2 separate regions of the Homo sapiens genome follow, and region 1 is linked to region 2. Evidence: promoter capture Hi-C in 16 types of primary human blood cells and fetal thymus (Javierre and others, 2016). All regions are on one chromosome and are shown on one strand. The core of a region is centred on a gene start or on the middle of the fragment in contact, and the rest is flanking DNA. Distances in the headings are between cores, read along the strand shown.

Region 1 (3,838 bases), core at 1,334-3,833, 830 kb before region 2:
GGAGTGCAGTGGCGCAATCTTGGCTCAAGGTAACCTCCGCCTCCCGGGTTCAAGCGATTCTCCTGCCTCAGCCTCCCGAGTAGCTGGGACTACAGGCACGTGCCACCACGCCCAGCTAATTTTTGTATTTTTAGTAGAGACGGGGTTTCACCCTGTTAGCCGGGATGGCCTCAATCTCTTGACCTTGTGATCTGCCTGCCTCGGCCTCCCAAAGTGCTGGGATTACAGGTATGAGCCACCACACCCAGCCTTTTTTTTTTTTTTTTGAGACGGAGTCTCGCTCTGTCTCCCAGGCTGGAGTGCGGTGGCGCAATCTCAGCTCACTGCAAGCTCCGCCTCCCAGGTTCACGGCATTCTCCCGCCTCAACCTCTGGAGTAGCTGGGACTACGGGCACCCACCACCAGGACCGGCTAATTTTTTTTTTTTTTTTTTTTTTTTTTGTATTTTCAGTAGAGACGGGGTTTTCACCATTCACAGGATGGTCTAAATCTCCTGACCTTGTGATCCGCCCACCTCGGCCTCCCAAAGTGCTAGGATTACAGGGGTAAGCCACCGCACCTGGCCTTTTTTTTTTTTTTTTTTTTTTAGATTGTGTCTCACTCACTCTGTTGCTCAGGCTGGAGTGGAGTGGCATGATGTCAGTTCACTTGCAACCTCTGCCTCCGAGGTTCAAGCAATTCCCCTGCCTGAGCCTCCCAAGTAGCTGCGATTACAGGCATGCACCACCATGCCTAGCTAATTTTGTATTTTTAGTAGAGATGGGATTTCACCATGTTGGCCAGGGTGGTCTCTAACTCCTGACCTCAGGTGATCTGCCAGCCTCGGCCTCCCAAAGTGCTGGGATTACAGGCGTGAGCCACCGTGCCTGGCCTGTTTTGCAAGTTTTTAAAATTAAATATATATTTTCAAAAACTCAAGTCCAAAAGACTGGTCTCTTGGGTCTCTCCTCCTTTTCCAGCAATTGTGGATATAGGAATTACCCTGACCTGATCACTGTACATTATGTATATTGCAACATCACTATCTACCCTGTAAATATGTACAGCTATTATCTGTCAATTAAAATGTGTGTGTGCGTGTGTGTTTTTAAATCAGTTAGACTAGGCTGGACATGGTGGCTCATGCCTGTAATCCCAACACTTTGGGAGGCCGAGGTGGGAGGCTTGTTTGAGGCCAGGAATTCAAGACCAGCCTGGGCAATGTAGTGAGCCCCTGTCTATACAAAAAAAAAAAAAAAAAGAAAAATAATAAAATGAAAAATCAGATAGACTGTTCCAAGTGGTAGGAAGAAATACTTTGATAAGTGACTTAAGATGGAGGTAAGACACCCCACTCCCCACCCACCCTACTTGTGAGGACATACCAGAGTGACAACTCCAAGCTGCTCAACTGCCTTCCATCTGAAGAACTTGTTCGCTAAGTGGGGCACATAGTGTGGAGTTGGAGCTAAATTGTTAGGGACAAAAAAGGCTGAGTTATCAGACCTGTGCCCCGTCTGTCTCAGGCTCTTATCTGCAGAATCAGCGAAGAAATCCCTAAAGACTATGGGTTTCAGGGAGTGCCCAGTTATGAGCCTGTTACAGCACCGTGTGCCTTCACCCTGCCCAGGTGAGGGGGCCCCACAGGTGGGGGCTTCCACTTTGTTGTCTCTGTCCCTCAGGTCCCTGAGGACAATCAAGGTAGCCATACACCCTGAATTTGCAAGGGCTGTCTGGTTTTAAAGTCTCTCCCTTTGATTCAGGAAAGTCCATTCTTACTTGTCAGTCTCGTCTTGTGTCCTGACTTTTGGCTCAGAAAATCAGTCACCACAGTCTCAAAAACTTTGAACTCAGCACTTCTCTCTTCCCTGCAGTAGGAAATCCCCTATAAGATGATCAGAGACAGACCCCTTGGGAAACTGCTAGGCCAGGGGCTGGAAATTGCAGGTGTCAACTCCCAGTAGAAACACCATTGTGGATACTTAGGTGACTCAGTAGCTATGGAAGATAAGACGGATCAGAGACCAGGATCAAGGGAGATAAATATTTTCAAAGAGCTTTGAGTTATTCAAGAAAGGACTCCTCAAATGGACAGGTATGGACCCATAAAAACAGAAATTCAGTCTTCTGGCTTTAGAATTTTGCCGCTTGACAGCTCCAGCTTGCGGCCCCCTTCCCCGCCCTCCTTCCCCCGGCCCCTATCTCTCCTGCACCGCCCACCCCCAACATTACATGCCACATCTTCTGGGTGAGACTTGACAATCCTTCTTTTAAAAATTTAATTAATTAATTATTTATATGTTTTTTGAGACAGAGTCTTGCTCTGTCACCCAAGCTGGAGTACACTGGTGTGATCTTGGCTCACTGCAACCTCCGCCTCCTGGGTTCAAGCAATTCTTCTGCCTCAGCCTTCTGAGTAGCTGGGACTACAGGCATGCACCACCACACCCGGCTAATTTTTTGTATTTTTAGTAGAGACAGGGTTTCGCCATGTTGTCCAGGCTGGTCTCAAACTCCTGACCTCAGGTGATCCACCCACCTTGGCCTCCCAAAGCGCTGGGATTACAGGAGTGAGCCACCGTGCCCAGCCAGTCCTTCTTTTTTTTTTTTTTTTTATCCAATTTCTTTCCCTTTCTTTAATTCCTCTTTTGTTTTGTCAAAGTAGTTCCTGAGCATCTTTTTCATGGTGAGTACTTGTGGAATACATCTTCCAAGTTCTCCTGTGCACATCTTAATAGTGTCTCTTTGATTGCTTCACATTTGATCGATAATCTGAGTGGGTAGGGAATGCTAAATTCAAAATAGTTTCCTAGCTGGGCATGGAGTCTCACAGGTGTAATTCCAGCACTTTGGAAGGCTGAGGCAGGAGGATTGCTTGAGCCCAGGAGTTTGAGAACAGCCTTGGCAACATAGCAAGACCCTGTCTTTACAAAAAAATAAGAAAAAAAAATTAGCCAGATGTGGTGGCATGTGTTTGTAGTCCCAGCTACTCGGGAGGCTGAGGCAGGAGGATCCTTTGAGCCTGGGTTATCAAGGCTGCAGTGAGATGTGATCGCATCAGCCTGGATGACAGACCGAGAACCTATCTCAAAAAAAAAAAGTTTCCCATAAAAATTTCGTAACCATTGTTTGTCTTCTAGCAAAATTATTTTACATTTGAAAACTTTAGGCCGGGCTCACGCCTGTAATCCCAGCACTTTGAGAGGCCGAGGCAGGTGGATCACCTGAGGTCAGGAGTTCAAGACCAGCCTGGCCAACATGGTAAAACCCCATCTCTACCAAAAATACAAAAATTAGCTGGGTGTGCTGGCGGGTGCCTGTAATTCCAGCTACTCGGGAGGCTGAGGCAGGAGAATCACTTGAACCCAGGAAGCGGAGTTTGCAGTGAGCCAAAATAGCGCCACTGTACTCCAACCTGGGTGACAAGAGGGAAACTCCTTCTCAAAAAAAAAAAGAAAAAGAAAAAGAAAACTTCAAACAAGTGTTTTCTTTCAGCCATCAAGCCTTTCCACCCCCTCTCTACTTCTGCTTCTTAAGCAAAGCATTTCCTCATAATCAGGGTGGAGTAATCTATTTTTGTTAGAACTCCCTGTAAAAATGCAACTGCCTCAAGAGGATCAAACACTTATGATCATCCTCAGTGCCAGGGGCTGGAAGTTGGGCCTTATATGGAATTCGTGACTCATCATCCAAGAGCCTAAAAGATTTACTTGCTCTGGCCGGGCTCCTAATTGCATGGGCTGAGCATCAGCTAGACGCCTGAAATCGAACACCTCGACACCTTTTAACTAACCTGGGAACATATTTCTGACTTGGTGCCAGGAAACAGAATACCTGTTTGGTAAACTGTCAACTTCTA
Region 2 (3,977 bases), core at 1,373-3,872:
TGGCGAAACCTCATCAATACGAAAAATGCAAAAATTAGCTTGGTGTGGTGGCACACGCCTGTAATCCCAGCCACTTGGGAGGCTGAGGCAGGAGAATCACTCAAACCCAGGAGGTGGAGATTGCAGTGAGCTGAGATTATGCCACTGCACTCCAGCCTGGGCAACAGAGTGAGACTCCACCTCAAAAAATAAAATAAAACCTTTGGGGCAAGCTCTGCTTTAGAGTCCAGAATTCTGGGGATTTTCAAAAGGCTATTCAATAAATGGGATTTATATCACATAACACCCTGACACTGTCTGACGCAGTTCTCCTATCAACTATTCGATTTTCCTTCACAAAACAAATTTAAAAATCACATCAAGGGATCTAAATAAAGACTGTAAATAGCTTTCCATCAGTTGGGTCTGGTCAGAAAAGAGGTTTGGTCCTTAGAACTTTCTGGATTTGGGAGTGTACTATACTCCCCATTTTACAGATAAAGGGAATGAGGAAGGGTAAGATGAAGTAACTTGGTCAAGGTCCTACAGCTAAGAAGTGGTTGTCGGGGGAGTGTGTGTGCATGTGTGTGTGCAGTGCTTCAGGGCACCCCCCACCCCGACCCCACCACTGAGAGCAAGGAATCAGGAGAAAACAACTTTGACTGCTTTCTGTACCAGAAACTCACCTCGAGCCTCCCACACCAAAGCCATGGGCAGCTTGTGGGTGACCTTCTTCTCTTGGCTCTGAGTTTCACTGATGCTCATTTTAATTCACTTTCATAGTGTTGTTTTGTTCTCGTTTTTGTTTTTGCTTGAGACAAAGTCTCCCTCTCACCCAAGCTGGAGTGCAGTGCTGCAATCACAGCTCATTGCAGCCTCTCCCTCCTGGGCTCAAGCGATCCTCCTGCCTTGACCTCCCAAAGTGCTGGGATTACAGGTGTGAGCCACCGTGCCCCACCTATAGGGTTTTAAACAGTAAAAGGAGCCTAGTGAAGTACGACTTACCGCAGGCACCCCTTACAGGCCCCGGGGGGACCCTTTTCTGCCGATCCCAGGGTACAGCTGTGACACCGTCTTTTCTGCCTGGATTATCCCAGTAGATAAACAAAAATTAGAGATCGTCATTCCATTTCTCTCTGTATATATTTTTCCAAGCCCTTTTCATGAATGATCAGTTATTTCCTGCACTGATTTTTTTTTTTTTTTTTTTTTTTTGAGACGGAGTCTCACTCTGTCACCCAGGCTGGAGTGCAGTGGCATGATCTCGGCTCGCTGCAAGCTCTGCCTCCCGGGTTCAAGCGATTCTTCTGCCTTAGCCTCCCGAGTAGCTGGGACTACAGGAGAGTACCATCATGCCCGGCTAATTTTTGTATTTTTAGTAGAGACAGGCTTTCACCATATTGGCCAGGCTGGTCTCGAACTCCGGACCTTGCGATCTGCCTGCCTTGGCCTCCCAAAGTGCTGGGATTACAGGCGTGAGCCACCGCGCCTGGCCCTCCTGCACTGATATAAAAAGAATTTTTTTAAATTCTCTATTTCTCCCCACTCCCACCCCCAGGCTCACTCCTTATAAAGCAGCCTCTAGCCTCATCTGCCCCTCCTACACCACACCAACTCGAGGGCCCGGAATTGGGTCTGGGGCAGTCGCTGACTTGCTTGCTTCTCTGCCCTGCTCTTGGGGTTAGCCTCAGGGGCAGGGTTGAGAGTCAGGCTTGGCCAGGCAGCAGGAGGTCCAGACAGCGAAGCAGAATCCTTCGGAGATACCAGGAGAGGGCGCATCTGCCTTTTTCCTGTTTCAGATTAGGTTTTGTTGTTGTTGTTTTGTTTTTTTTCTCTCCCTCTCTCCCTCCCTCCCTCTCTCCCTCCCTCTCTCCCTCTCTCCGTCCCTCCCTCTCTCTCTCTCTCCCCCTCCCTCCTTCCCTCCCTCCCATCCCTGCAGCGCTACCCGGGTACTCTGGATGCACATAGGGCGGCTCTCGCTCCTACCTTGTCATCCTGCTGTCTAATCCGGGGGCAGCTTCCCTCCTCCACACCAGCAGAGGCTATTCTTCAGCAACAAGAATAGCCGAGCCTATTCGTCCGCAACAAGAGCCCAAGAAGCATCCTGCAGGCTTTCTGCTTTTTGAGTGTATTTTAAAGCAAAAACGAGTGGAAAGCTATGTATGCTCAGTTAACTATGTCTAGATGTTAACCTTTTTTCAAAAAACACAGATGGAGGCCTCCCTCCGAGGATGCCTGGCATTCTCCTCTTTCTGTGGGCGGCAGCGACCCCCTGCGGCTCCAGCCTCCACTACGGGATCTGCGGGAAGACACGGGGAAGACGAACTCCGCACACTGCATTTGATTAATGATTTATTTTGATTAACGCCGTCACAGTGACGCCTTAGAGCAGTCCCTGTTCACCCGGGTCCCAGCCTCGACCCCGCACGGACAGCGAGGGTGGGTAGCTGGGGGCGGACGCAGGAAAGAGGAGGGGCGGGGCCTTGGTCGGGTGGGGTATGGAATGGGCAGGGTGGGGGGGATGGGCGGGGTATGGGATGGGCGGGGCCCGGGAAATTCCCCGGCGCGGGCAGGGAGCGGCTGGCTGTCAGCTGAGCCGCGCTGGGCGGGGTCGCCAGGCCGCGCATCAGCCCTAGGCACCCCAGTCCCGGCTGCCCCCTCCGCCACCGCCGCCGCCCGCCGGCAGGTTCCCTGGTCAGCGTCCCATCCCGGTCGGGAGTTCTCTCCAGGCGGCACGATGCCGAGGAAACAGTGACCCTGAGCGAAGCCAAGCCGGGCGGCAGGTGAGCCAGGGCAGGGGGCTGCAGCGGTGGGCGAGGGGGCGGCGGCTCCTTCCCGGCGGGCGCTTCCGCGGCCTGAAAACGGTACCCGCCGCCCTGCCCCGCGGCCCGGAGCCTGTCGGGGTGAGGGTGGCGAGGGGTGGGGCGGCCCTCCCGCGAGACGGCTGCCCTGGGAGGATCCCCAAGCCTCGGCGGGTCCTGACCTGGTGGGAGAGGGTGGGTAGTGAACACAGGGTGGGCCCAAGAAGGGTCCAGGGCCGGCCTCTTGGCCGCAGGTAACCCCTCTACAAGTCACCCAGAGACTTGGAGGTGACGTCCTCCCGCAGGCTGGGAAGGATTCCGCAGCCAGTTCCTCGCCATAAGGAGGTGGTTACAGACACGCCTGTGGGAGACATGGGACCACTACCCGAGCTGAATGAGGTGCCCAGGGTCGGTGGGAATCCACATAGACTGCTGTGTCTAGGAGAGTGTGTACACTCTATATAGAGAGAATATTTGATGAGGCCGAGAACCCCAAAGGAATTGTTTTTGCCATCGAAATGCATAAGCTACAGGAAGTAAACATCGCTCAAAGAAAATGAAACCCAGGTTCCGACCTGGCCTCCACCAGCAGGAAAACTGTTGTATGGAAATGTACACCAAGGAACTGTTTGTAAGGATGAAATGGAAAATGAAAGCATAGAAAAGTAAGGCAATGTGAGGACCTCAGAAGCCTTTGGATCTGGTTAGCAAGGTGCAGGCTGTGTGAACAGAAGAACCCACCTTGCTCTTTTGACCCAGGGAGAGAAGAGTTAGTGGTGCCAGGCTGCCTCCCAGGACAGGCCCAGTTTTGGGGCGGGGGCTGGAGAAGTCCCAGGGCAGACCCCAAGGCCAGGGATTGCCCTGGAGTGGACAAGGCAAGTTTAAATGTGACCTGTAGACAGAGGACGATCATTGATTTAAGTCCTGGCATAATTCATCTGTTTTTCCACTGGGCCAATTTTAGGCGTTCTTTATATATTACGTACAACACAATAAAAGTAACAGCTTCTTTTTTTATAAACTAACCTTTAGGTTGCATATTATGCTAGGAATATAACTAACCTAACCTCCACCCCCCCACCCCCCCACCCACCCCCGGAAAACCAAACTTTATTCTCGAGGGCAACTGGACACTGTATTATGTCCTGCCGAACCCCCGCCCTTACTTAGGTAGAGGCGCATAAGTATTCTGGCCAT

Evidence for each region. Contacts are between HindIII fragments. The CHiCAGO score rates a contact against its expected background, and 5 or more counts as called.
Region 1: a contact is called between a fragment that was not itself captured here and the fragment with the promoter of OPTN in region 2, in 5 of 17 cell types (endothelial precursors, erythroblasts, naive CD4 T cells and 2 more). The highest score is 6.8, in endothelial precursors.

Annotation. Positions count from the first base shown.
Region 1 is chr10:12,267,433-12,271,270 of GRCh38, forward strand. No RefSeq gene overlaps it. Among named protein-coding and RNA genes, the nearest start is that of CDC123, 73 kb to the left of the region's middle. The HindIII fragment of the contact is 6,579 bases long and covers 1-3,838 here.
Region 2 is chr10:13,097,541-13,101,517 of GRCh38, forward strand. It overlaps OPTN (optineurin), which reads left to right and starts at 2,623. Exons shown (of 15, transcript NM_001008212.2): 1 at 2,623-2,762. It also overlaps a transcript of CCDC3 not described here. RefSeq lists silencers at 1,899-1,958, 2,429-2,998 and an enhancer at 3,279-3,408. The HindIII fragment of the contact is 12,315 bases long and covers 1-3,977 here.